3 separate regions of the Homo sapiens genome follow, and all the other regions are linked to region 2. The links are contacts of gene promoters, found by promoter capture Hi-C in blood cells and fetal thymus (Javierre and others, 2016). All regions are on one chromosome and are shown on one strand. The core of a region is centred on a gene start or on the middle of the fragment in contact, and the rest is flanking DNA. Distances in the headings are between cores, read along the strand shown.

Region 1 (3,262 bases), core at 646-3,145, 200 kb after region 2:
TCTTTATTTAAACACTTTAAAAATATTGTTTCCCTTCCTGCTGTCTCATAATCTCTGATAAGAAAGCCACAGTCCTGCAAATTGTTGATTCTCTGTAGTAATGTATCTTTCTTTGGTTTCTTGCAAGATTCTTGTCTTTGTCCTTTGTTTTCAGCAGTTTGACTGCGTGTTCAATATGGGTTCTTTTATGTTTATTTATGTTTATTCTATTTGGGGTTTGCTGAGCTTCTTGATTCTATAGGTCTATGTCTTTGCCAAATTTGGGGAGTTTGCCAAATTTGAAGTTTTCTTCAAATATTTTTCTATACCACATTTTTCTCCCTCTCCTACTGGGACTTGGATGATGCAAATGTTAGACCTTTTGGTATTGTCCCACAGGTTCTTTAAAGGGTTGCTTTCCTGAGCTCCTCCTTTTCTGTCATCTCCCTGATGCATTATGATTCCTTGAGATTCTTGATCCTTTGGCCAAAAAGCTTATTTACCTTGTTCTGTGATGTACTTCCTGTGACCATGCCTGCACCGGGGCAGGGCAATGGGAAGACAGAGAGAGAGAAGAAAGAGTATCAAGGATTCATTCCACCTTCCTGGGAGCACAGCTCCTCTGACTGGAGAGGAAGTTTGCCCTCCCTCAGAGTTCTGGGGTCTTTCTGGCCCCTTCTCCTGCTGCTGCCACTATTTCCAAGGATTGCTTGGAACTGGGGTGCAAGATAATGGAGAAAAGGAAAAGAGAAAAGTGGGAGGTCTCTGTACTCTCTGAACATTAGGAGATCTCTTTCCTGCACCTTAAGTCGGATCCAGAGAGTTTTCTCCTGGAGCCCCCTCTGCCCCATAGATGCCCATATTGGGTTTTGGGCTGCATTGAGTTCAGGTTGGGGGATACCAGAGGAAAAAATACAGTAAACTCACTGCTACTTGGGTGGTATATTCAAATATATTATTCTTCTTCAGTCTGCCTGCATTGATTTACTTTCAGAGTCTTCATATAGTTGCTCCATGCATTCTGTACAAAATTTATAGCTGCATTCATTGTGAGAGAGACAGACAGTGTGGAATGTGTTTATTCCATCTTACCTAGAACTGGAGCTTCTTATTAATATCTTGATTGTGATTGCATTGAATTATAGATCAATTTGGGAAGAATTGACATTTTCACAGTATAGAGTCTGTTTACCTATCAAAAACTATATCCTTCCATTTATTTAGGTCTCCTTTAATTTCTCTTAGCAATGTTTTGTTGTTTTCAGTATCAATCTTGTATATCTTTTGTCAGATTTATCCGTAAGTGTTTCATATTTTCGATGCTTAATTGAAAGTGGTATTGTTATTTTTATTTCAATTTCTGATTGTTTGTTGCTAGTATATAGAAACACAGCTAATTTTTGTATTTTGGCCCTCTATATTGCAACCTTCCTAAACTCACTTACCGATTCTACTAGATTTTACGTAGATTCCTTAGAATCATATATATATATGTGTGTGTATCTGTGTGTGTGTGTGTATATATGTGATCATATTGTATATAAGTAAAGACAATTCAAATTCTGATCCCTTTAATTTCCTTTTCTTGTCTCATTGTACAGCACAGACTCTCCAATACAATGCTGAATAGAAACGGCAGAAGCAGACATCCTTGCCTCATTCCCAGTCTTAGGGAGAATGCATTCAGTCTTTCACCATTAAGTATCACGCTAGTGATATCTTTGTTTGTAAATATCCTTTGTCAGACTTGAGGAAGTTCCTTTTCTTCTTAGTTTGCAAAGAATGTTTTTGTTTGTTTGTTTGTTTTTGGTTTCGGTTTTTTGAGACAGAGTCTTACTCTTTCACCCAGGCTGGAGTGCAGTGGTTCAATATCGGCTCACCGCAACCTCTGCCTTCCAGATTCAAGCAATTCTCATGCCTCAACCTCCTGAGTAGCTGGGATTACAAGTGTGTGCCAGCATGCCTGGCTAATTTTTATATTTTTAGTAAAGACAGAGGTCTAGGTGCGGTGACTCATGCCTGTAATCCCAGCACTTTGGGAGGCCGAGATGGGCGGATCACCTGAGGTTGGGAGTTCGAGACCAGCCTGACCAACATGGAGAAACCCCATCTCTACTAAAAATACAGAAAAATTAGCCGGGCATGGTGCTGTGTACCTGTAATCCCAGCTACTCGGGAGGCTGAGGCAGGAGAACCACTTGAATCTGGGAGGAGGAGGTTGTGGTGAGCCGAGATCGCACGATTGCACTCCAGTACGGGCAACAAGAGCGAAACTGTGTCTCAAAAAAAAAAAAAGACGGAGGTTTGTCATATTGGCCAGGCTGGTCTCGAACTCCTGACCTCAAGTGATCCACCTGCCTTGGCCTCCCAAAGTGCTGGGATTACAGGAGTGAGCCACCGCGCTGGCCCAATGCTACCATTTCAATCTTTGTTAGTGTCTGGCTTCATATTAGCAAGCCAGTGTAAAAGTAATCCAAACCTACTGATTAAGTAAAACCAAAGTTTGCTACTTTGCATAATTGTGGTGAGGGAGAGATTTTTAGTTCTTTCATGATAAAATTATTATATTTTCCTTGTAAAACTTTGAGAAGAGCACTGAGGATGAAGCAAAAGGGTCTTGTTCCTCAGCCCCTTCAGCTCATTCCCCAGATGTAACCACTGTAAATAGGCTTTTGTGCCTGCTCTCAGAATCTTTATGTGTATGTAAACACTTCTGTGTGCATGTGTGTGGTGCCTATGCGTGTATGTATGTCTGTGTGTTTTGTATGAATTGCAACATGCTATATATAATGTTTTGTAACTAGTTATTTTCTTTTGGTAACATTTCTTGCCATTTTGTTCTTTTTCTTTGTTTTTTTTTTCCCAATCAGTTTTCTCAGGTTGAATCTTGCCATTTTGCTACAAATAGATCTCCCTCTGTTTTAAAGGCTGCATAAAACACATTTACCAGGGTATACCACAACCTGGCAAAACTTTTCTGATGGACATTTGGCTTGCTTCCAGTCTTTTGGTTGTTGCAAATGAGGCGGAAATGAACACACTTGTGTAGGTATCTTTATGCTTTCCTAAGAATGTGTCTGAAAGATAAATTCCTACCTGAAGGTAGAATTGCTGAGTCAGAGCACTTTGGAGTTTGACTGACATTGTCAGATTGCCATCCCATGGCATGGGGCCAAGCTACGCTTATTTTTTTTCACATCCTGACTGGCACTGGGTTTATCAGTCTTTTCTATTTTAACTAATCTTATTGGTGAAGATGCTGTTTAATTCTTGTTCTTTGAGT
Region 2 (3,590 bases), core at 26-2,525:
TGTGTTCATCAAATACTCCTTTCAGAGCTGTTGTGGGTGTAAGTGACATGATGTGGCCAAAAATCCAAACTGTGCAGTTGCGTTGTGACAAACATGCAATGTGCTGTAAAAATTCAATACAGTTTAAATAAAATCTCTATATTAGTGCTGCTTTGTTGGGTCGTTTTATTTTCATTTCTAAAAAAACTTAATATTCACTTATTCTTTGACCATGAGAAGAGTAGAACATTGTACCCCTTTCTCCCAGCAATTTCCAATTTATTTATTTTGAGATGGAGTCTCCCTCTGTTCCCCAGGCTGGAGTGCAGTGGTGCGATCTCGGCTCACTGCAACCTCCGCCTTCTGGGTTCAAGCGATTCTCCTGCCTCAGCCTCCTGAACAGTTGGGACTACAGGTATGCTACCACGCTGGCTAATTTTTGTATTTTTAGTAGAGACAGGGTTTGACCATGTTGGCCAGGCTGGTCTCGAACTCCTGGGTTCAAGCAGTCCACCCAGCTCGGCCTCCCGAAGTGTTAGGATTACAGACATGAGCCACTGCGCCCGGCCAATTTCCGTTTTCAAATGAACCTCTCTTTTTGAATCAGCACAGCTCTTGTTACATTCTTATTTATTGATTGGCTAGGGATCGATTCTTATGGATACCGTAGAATTCTGTCCCATCTTTATTTCTCTTTAATGTCTAAAATGCCACCAGCTAGTTGGGCAGGCACACAAGATAGTACTTAGATTCTTGTGATTCCCTCCTCCTAGGGACCTCAGTTTTCATCTAACCTTGAGTAAATTGTCTTGAACAAATACTGACTTAAAAGAGTGTATCTTAAAAGATACAAAGGGCTACTATCTAAAAGGTGAGTTCGTTTACTCAAGATATTATACCTCCAGTAGCATCATTTTTGTTTGAGAGGTAAGCAGTTCCACTGTTAGCAAAGATTACAGACCAGACCCTTTGGTCCCCAGAACGACCAACTCTGCTGCCTAACGCACACTTTCTCTGCATTCCAAGTCTCCACTAGTTGGCTGGGCCGAAACACACGCCTCTTGGTATTCCACGGTGGATAACTGGGCTTCTCTCTTGTCAGGACTTAGAACACCCCGGCAGACAGCCTTCCCGGCCTGAAGTCTGGGAACGCCTGGGGAAGGGGCTCCTGCCCGGGTCCCGCAGGCGTCCGGCGGGCCGAGCTGGGGCACGCGGCCGCCGAGGGGGAGGTGCCCACGCCGCGTGGCGGGAACTCGAGGCCCCATTGGCCGCGCTGGGAGGCGCCGCGGGGCCTCGTGCGCCAACGGTCCCTGGTACGCGGCGGATGGGCGCCGGCAGGAGCGGGCAGGGCGAGGCGAAGGCCGGGGAGGGATCGAGAACGGTGTGGGAGAGCTAGGCTCGGGGGGCGAGGCCCCGGCCCGGCGGGGCGATGGAGGCGCTGCTCTCCACCCCCATCAACCCCAACAACTTCCCCGCCAAGCTGTGGCGCCTGGTGAACAGCCCGCGCTACCGCTCCATCCGCTGGGACGGCCGCGGCGAGGGGCTGCTTATCGATCAGCCGCTCTTCGAGGCCGAGCTGCTCAGCCCGCCCGGGCCGGGGGGCGGTGGCGGGACTGCGGGGGCCGGGGCCGAGCCCGAGCTCTTCAAAACCACCAGCTTCACCAGCTTCATCCGCCAGCTCAACCTCTACGGCTTCCGCAAGGTGGTGCTGGGCGGGCCGGGGGGCGGCAAACCGGCAGGCAATGGGCCGCTCCATCACTTCCACAACCCGCACTTCCGCCGCGACCAGCCACAGCTGCTCGTGCACCTCAAGCGCCTCACCAGCGCCAACAAGGCCAAGCTGGCGGCCGGCCTGGAGGTGCCCTGCCGCCCGCCCAACCGCTTCCAGCGGCTGCTCATCACCTCGGCCTCCGCCGCCACCGCGCCACTGCAGCACCAGCAGCCGCCGCCGCCCGCGGGGCCCCGGCCCGAGCCGCACGGTGAGTCCGGACTGCCCGTGCCCTCGCCCACAGTGGGCACATGGGCGGCGGGGAGCAACCGCCGCTGGAGGGCGCATTTTCGCACGTCCTCACGCTATGGGCGTCGGAAAGGCGCCGGGGACCCATTGGCCGCTGTGCTTCCCGAGACTGGCGGTCCCGCCACCGCCGCCGTTCTCAGCGGCACCAGCACGGTGGCCACCGGCCCTCCCCTGGAGGGTCCGTAAGCATTCGGCCCCTTCTGAGCCCACTGGCAGCAAAAGGGACCTCCGCCTCTTAGGCTCCCTTCTACTCGTCCCCGGTTTGAACCCCAGGAGTTTACCTGGTTGTAAGCCTCCGTTTACCTTCCTGAGACCCACACTGTCCACTGTAAACATGTGGACTCAGTAGTCCTTCGTTGAAACATTGGGTCTGGAAGAAACAAAAGGGGCTCCTTTGCTCCCGTGGGAAGCAGAGTGGAGTCACCCTACGGGTTAAGGCGGGATGGAACAAAATCGTAGTCAAGAGAATTTAGAACATTACGGTTGGGCGTGGTGGCTCACGCCTGTAATCCCAGCACTTTGGGAGGCCGAGGCGGGTGCATCACGAGGTTAGGAGTTTGAGACCGGCCTAACCAACAGGGTGAAACCTCGTCTCTACTAAAAATACAAAAATTAGCCAGGCATGGTGGTGCACGCCTGTAATCCCAGCTACTTAGGAGACTGAGGCAGGAGAATCGCTTGAACCCAGGAGGCAGAGGTTGCAGTAAGCCGAGATAGTGCCACTGCACTCCAGTCTGAGCAACAGAGCGAGACTCGGTCTCAAAAAAAAAAAAAAAAAAAAAAAGAGAGAACTTAGAACATTACAATAGCAGGCAAGGGAAAGTTTTGGAAAAGGTGCCTGCAGTGGAAATTTGTCCTTGAAGAGGGCTGCCACCTTCCACCTATTGGCACATCTAAGAAATCTTAGAAGTGCTACGACAATCATCAGATTTAAGGTTCTGGTTAATGTGTAGAATGGTAGACGTTGTTTATATACCTTAAGAGCAAAAATACAACGATACATCGTGGCTTACAAGATATAGTTCCTATGTAGAATGAATTGGCTACACATTTCTTTCATTGAAGCAAATTAGAGCTTGATGCTTCCTTAAAGGGGTATGATTAGACAAACATAAGGCAAAGATGGTTTTCTTTACAGCTGTCAAGTTTTAGTTAAAAAAGAATTTTAGAAAGCTCACATTTACAGCCTTTGGAGTTTTCACTATTGGCTACAATCTTTCAGTATTGAAAAAACTTTTTGGTATACATCTGTATTTAGTAAAAGTTAAGAAACCCTCTGTGATAGTGGATTATTTATTTTTTATTATTTGTTTATTTTTTTGAGACGGAGTTTCGCTCTTGTCACCCAGGCTGGAGTGCAATGGCGCGATCTCGGCTCACCACAACCTCCGCCTCTCGGGTTCAAGCAATTCTCATTCCTTAGCCTCCTGAGTAGCTGGGAATACAGGCGCGTGCCACCATGCCCGGCTAATTTTTATATTTTTTAGTAGAGACGAGGTTTCACCAGGTTGGCCAGGCTGGTCTCGAACTCCTGACCTCAGGTGATCCGCCAGCCTTGGCCTCCCAAAGTGCTGGGATTACAGGCCTGAGCCAC
Region 3 (3,454 bases), core at 147-2,646, 240 kb after region 2:
CTGAAGTTCATTACATCCTGTTGTGTGAAAGAACTGAGGGTAATCATTCAGTCCTCACAGTGAGGGCTCCAAATTTCTGGTGAGGAGGGAGTATTGAGCTCCCTGGACAGGAAAGCAGGACACGAGGTGGGAACAGGTTTGTTAATAATTACTACTAACAACAGCTGCCATGTATTTATTTTGGACTTACCATGTGCCAGGAATTATGCATACTTTAACTCATCTCAGTCCTCAAAAAAACCCTGTAAGGTGGACAATTCAGTTCCATTTTATAGATGAGAAAACTGGGGCTCAGAAAAGTTAAGTAAGTTGCCTAAGAACTTATACACTGGAAGGGAAAGATGTAGGATTCAGATCATTGGCTTCATTCCACAGTTTATGCTCTTTATACCACAGCACATAGCCTCGATTTATTCTTTGAGTGAAGAAATGACTCTCCAACTGTAATACCCATGAATAATAAGAAAAGATGCATTGCTGCAAGCTCCTCTCCCTTCCGGATGGAAATCCCTACAAATCCCTGCTGCTCACTCGGATTCATCCAGGTTTCAAGTCCTTCTGAGTGGAGTTGAAGTCATCCTCCACGATGATGTACAGCAGTATAAACTTTATCATGTATAAAATGAATCTCTGTTGATCTTGGTAAAAATGTAGAATCTATTTCCTAACATCTTGGGTGAGACTTGAGATTTTGCATTTTTTTTTTCTTTTTCTTTTTTCTTTTTTGAGTTGGAATCTTGCTCTGTTGCCCAGGCTGGAGTGCAGTGGCGTGATCTCGGCTCACTGCAACCTCCGCCTCCCAGGTTCAAGCGGTTCTCCTGCCTCAACCTCCTGAGTAGCTGGGACCACATGCATGTGCCACCTCGCCAGGCTAATTTTTGTATTTTTAGTAGAGACGGGGTTTCACCATGTTGGCCAGGCTGGTCTCAAACTCTTGACCTCAGGTGATCTGTCCACCTCAGCCTCCCCAAGTGCTGGGATTATAGGCATGAGCCGCCTCGCCCAACTGAGATTTTACATTTCTAATAAGCAGGTTTTACCAATGCTGCTGGGTCGGGAATGTAGACAACCTTCTCCAGTGTTCCCATTCTGCTATCAGTAGTTTACTTGTCCAATTCCCACACTGGCCCTTTGTTCTTGAGAGCAGGAGCGGTGTCCTGTTCACTTTGGAATCCTCAGCGCTTAGTGCACTGCCTGGTATGGGGTGGTCAATGTCTATTTACTGAATAAACGGATGAGTGAACGAATGGACACGTGAGGCATGGGAAACTACCAAATCAGTATCCCAGATCTATCCAGAGATCCTAGCTGATGAGCTGGGAATGTCTGCTACATCAGGGTGGGCAAGGGGCTAGTCAGAGATGCCTAGCTGCAGGGCCGTACCATGATGGGGAAGCAGTTGTCTCCCTGGATACAGTACTCATCACACTGGGCTTTGGAGTACTCGCTACTCCCCAGCTCGGTGTCAGGGGCAAAGTCCAGGTCATGATCCACAATCTGACCCCACTGCATGAAGAGCAGGGACCTGTTTTGGTCCAGAACACCCTCCTCATTCAGATAGCCAACAATCTTGTTAGATACCTCCCGGGCCTACAGATGGAGAGAGAAGGGGAGGGCAGATTAGAGGAAAAAGTGCTTTGAGGATTCAGATGCAACTACAGCTTATTAACTACCTACCATGTTACAAGTGCACTTAATCCCTACAAGGAGTTTGTGAGGTGGGTGGCATTAGCCTATTCTGTAGAGGGGGAGATTGAATCCTGGACAGGTGAAGTCAGTTCTCCAAGGTCCTGCCGCTACAAAGGGACAGGGATGGGATTGAACCCAGATCCGTATGACTTGATGATTTGCCAAGCCGGTGCCCTTTCCACTAAGAGAGGGAAAACAAAGACAGGCTGCCTCTGAAATGCGAGCTACGGAGGTGCCAGGTGTCCAGGAATAGGAGAGGGGCTCTGGGTAGGGGCTGCCAGCTCGATAAGGCCAACAAATAGGACCTCCAGGCAAACAACAGCTGATGCACTCCAGGGGCGGGGGCTGGGGTAAGTGCGAGCGGGATGGGGCAGGGAGGCCATCTGCCCGGGAGACCCCAGGGTATCTGGCCTGCGGCGGCCAGAACGTGACCGCCACGTGGCCGGGCTCCGGGCTCCGAGCTCTGCTGCCCTCTAGCGGAAGGTGGGGGTCTGTGCAGATCTCCATCGCGCACCCCTGCTGCCCCCACCGATCCCTCCTCCTCCTTTCACTGCGTGTTTGGGTAGTGCATCCCGTCCCCTCTGGCTCCCATCCTTCACCCCGGCCCGGCCTGCCCTCACCAGCGGGAGAGGGAAGCCGTTGCGCGTCTTCCCCGGCGTCCAGCCGAAGGGCAGGGAGAGCCCGTCCTCGTACTCCGCGGGCAGCCAGCGCGCCAGAGCCCTGTTGGCGGCGCCCAGCGCAGGCTTCCTCCTGAAACCAGCACGATCCTCGCTGAGCTTCGGCAGGCCGGCTCCGGGGCTCCAAAGCCCAGGACCCCATGGGGGAAGGAGCCTCTGCTCGAGGCGGAGGGGACGCAGAGAAGGGGGCCTCTCAAATTTGGGGTCTCTGAACTGCGCCCACCCCCTGAAGGCGCGGGGCTCCCCCGCCCCGGGGAAAGGTGCCGCTTCCAGAGACACACAGTGGGCTGGAGGGAGAGGGCTGGAGACGCGCGATCTTGAGAAGGTGGGGAAGGTGGGAACGCCAGCCCAGGTGGGCAAGGCAGTGGCAGATCTGCCTAGAGTGCCCAAGGGACAAAGGCCTTGGCAGGGCGGGGCGGAGTGGCTGGAATGGTCGGCCCCCACACCCCAAGCCCCGCCACCTGTTATTGCAGTCTCCCGTAATGGTGCGGTAAGGGCTGCACGGGTCGCATCTCACCACGGGAGCAGGAGCACCACAGCCCACCTCCAGAGACAGTGAAGTCAAGTCCAGGCTGGGATCTGAAACAGAAGGGACCCCAAAGGGACTGAGTTCTTTCTCCATTCACAGGCACCCGTGGGAGGCAGGAAATGGAGACCAGAGGTGAACCTGCATGTTTTGGAATGCATTCCATTCTAAGTAAGCGTTTCTCAAGTGGTTTCTCAATTAATCTGACAGCACATTAAGGTAATACATTTTATTCCCATTTTACAGGGAAGAAAATGAGAACACAATGTTCAAGAGACTTGCCCAAGGCCACACAGAGTAACTGGGAATGTCCCCAGAATTGCTAGTAATTCCTGGTATACCAGGTCCAGATTCATTTGAATTGACAGATCTTTCTTTTAGAATGGAAATACCCCGGGAGGTTAAGCATATGTTAGTATGAGTTAGTGTGATAAGACTGCTTTCTTCTAAAGCTTCGTTCACATCTGAAGTACCAAGCAAGCAGGGACATAGCTAGGATAGAGGTTGGGAAGGGACAGGTAATTTTTCAGTGAGGGGCAAGGGTTGTGGGAGGAGTGACAGA

Evidence for each region. Contacts are between HindIII fragments. The CHiCAGO score rates a contact against its expected background, and 5 or more counts as called.
Region 1: a fragment that was not itself captured here is called in contact with the fragment with the promoter of HSF5 in region 2 in 1 of 17 cell types (neutrophils); the score reaches 6.5 in neutrophils.
Region 3: a fragment that was not itself captured here is called in contact with the fragment with the promoter of HSF5 in region 2 in 2 of 17 cell types (naive B cells and erythroblasts); the score reaches 5.8 in naive B cells.

What each region holds. Positions count from the first base shown.
Region 1 is chr17:58,289,904-58,293,165 of GRCh38, reverse strand. No RefSeq gene overlaps it. Among named protein-coding and RNA genes, the nearest start is that of MPO, 11 kb to the right of the region's middle. The HindIII fragment of the contact is 2,839 bases long and covers 476-3,262 here.
Region 2 is chr17:58,486,093-58,489,682 of GRCh38, reverse strand. HSF5 (heat shock transcription factor 5) reads left to right here and starts at 1,275. Exons shown (of 6, transcript NM_001080439.3): 1 at 1,275-1,958. The coding sequence starts at 1,409. MTMR4 (myotubularin related protein 4) reads left to right here. Exons shown (of 18, transcript NM_001378067.1): 18 at 1-146. RefSeq lists silencers at 1,564-1,613, 1,874-1,993. The HindIII fragment of the contact is 13,387 bases long and covers 1-3,590 here.
Region 3 is chr17:58,248,551-58,252,004 of GRCh38, reverse strand. LPO (lactoperoxidase) reads right to left here. Exons shown (of 13, transcript NM_006151.3): 5 at 2,828-2,945; 6 at 2,310-2,439; 7 at 1,384-1,590. LOC124904038 (a long non-coding RNA gene) reads left to right here and starts at 2,921. Exons shown (of 3, transcript XR_007065862.1): 1 at 2,921-3,063. RefSeq lists enhancers at 2,456-2,525, 2,656-3,221. The HindIII fragment of the contact is 3,901 bases long and covers 1-3,346 here.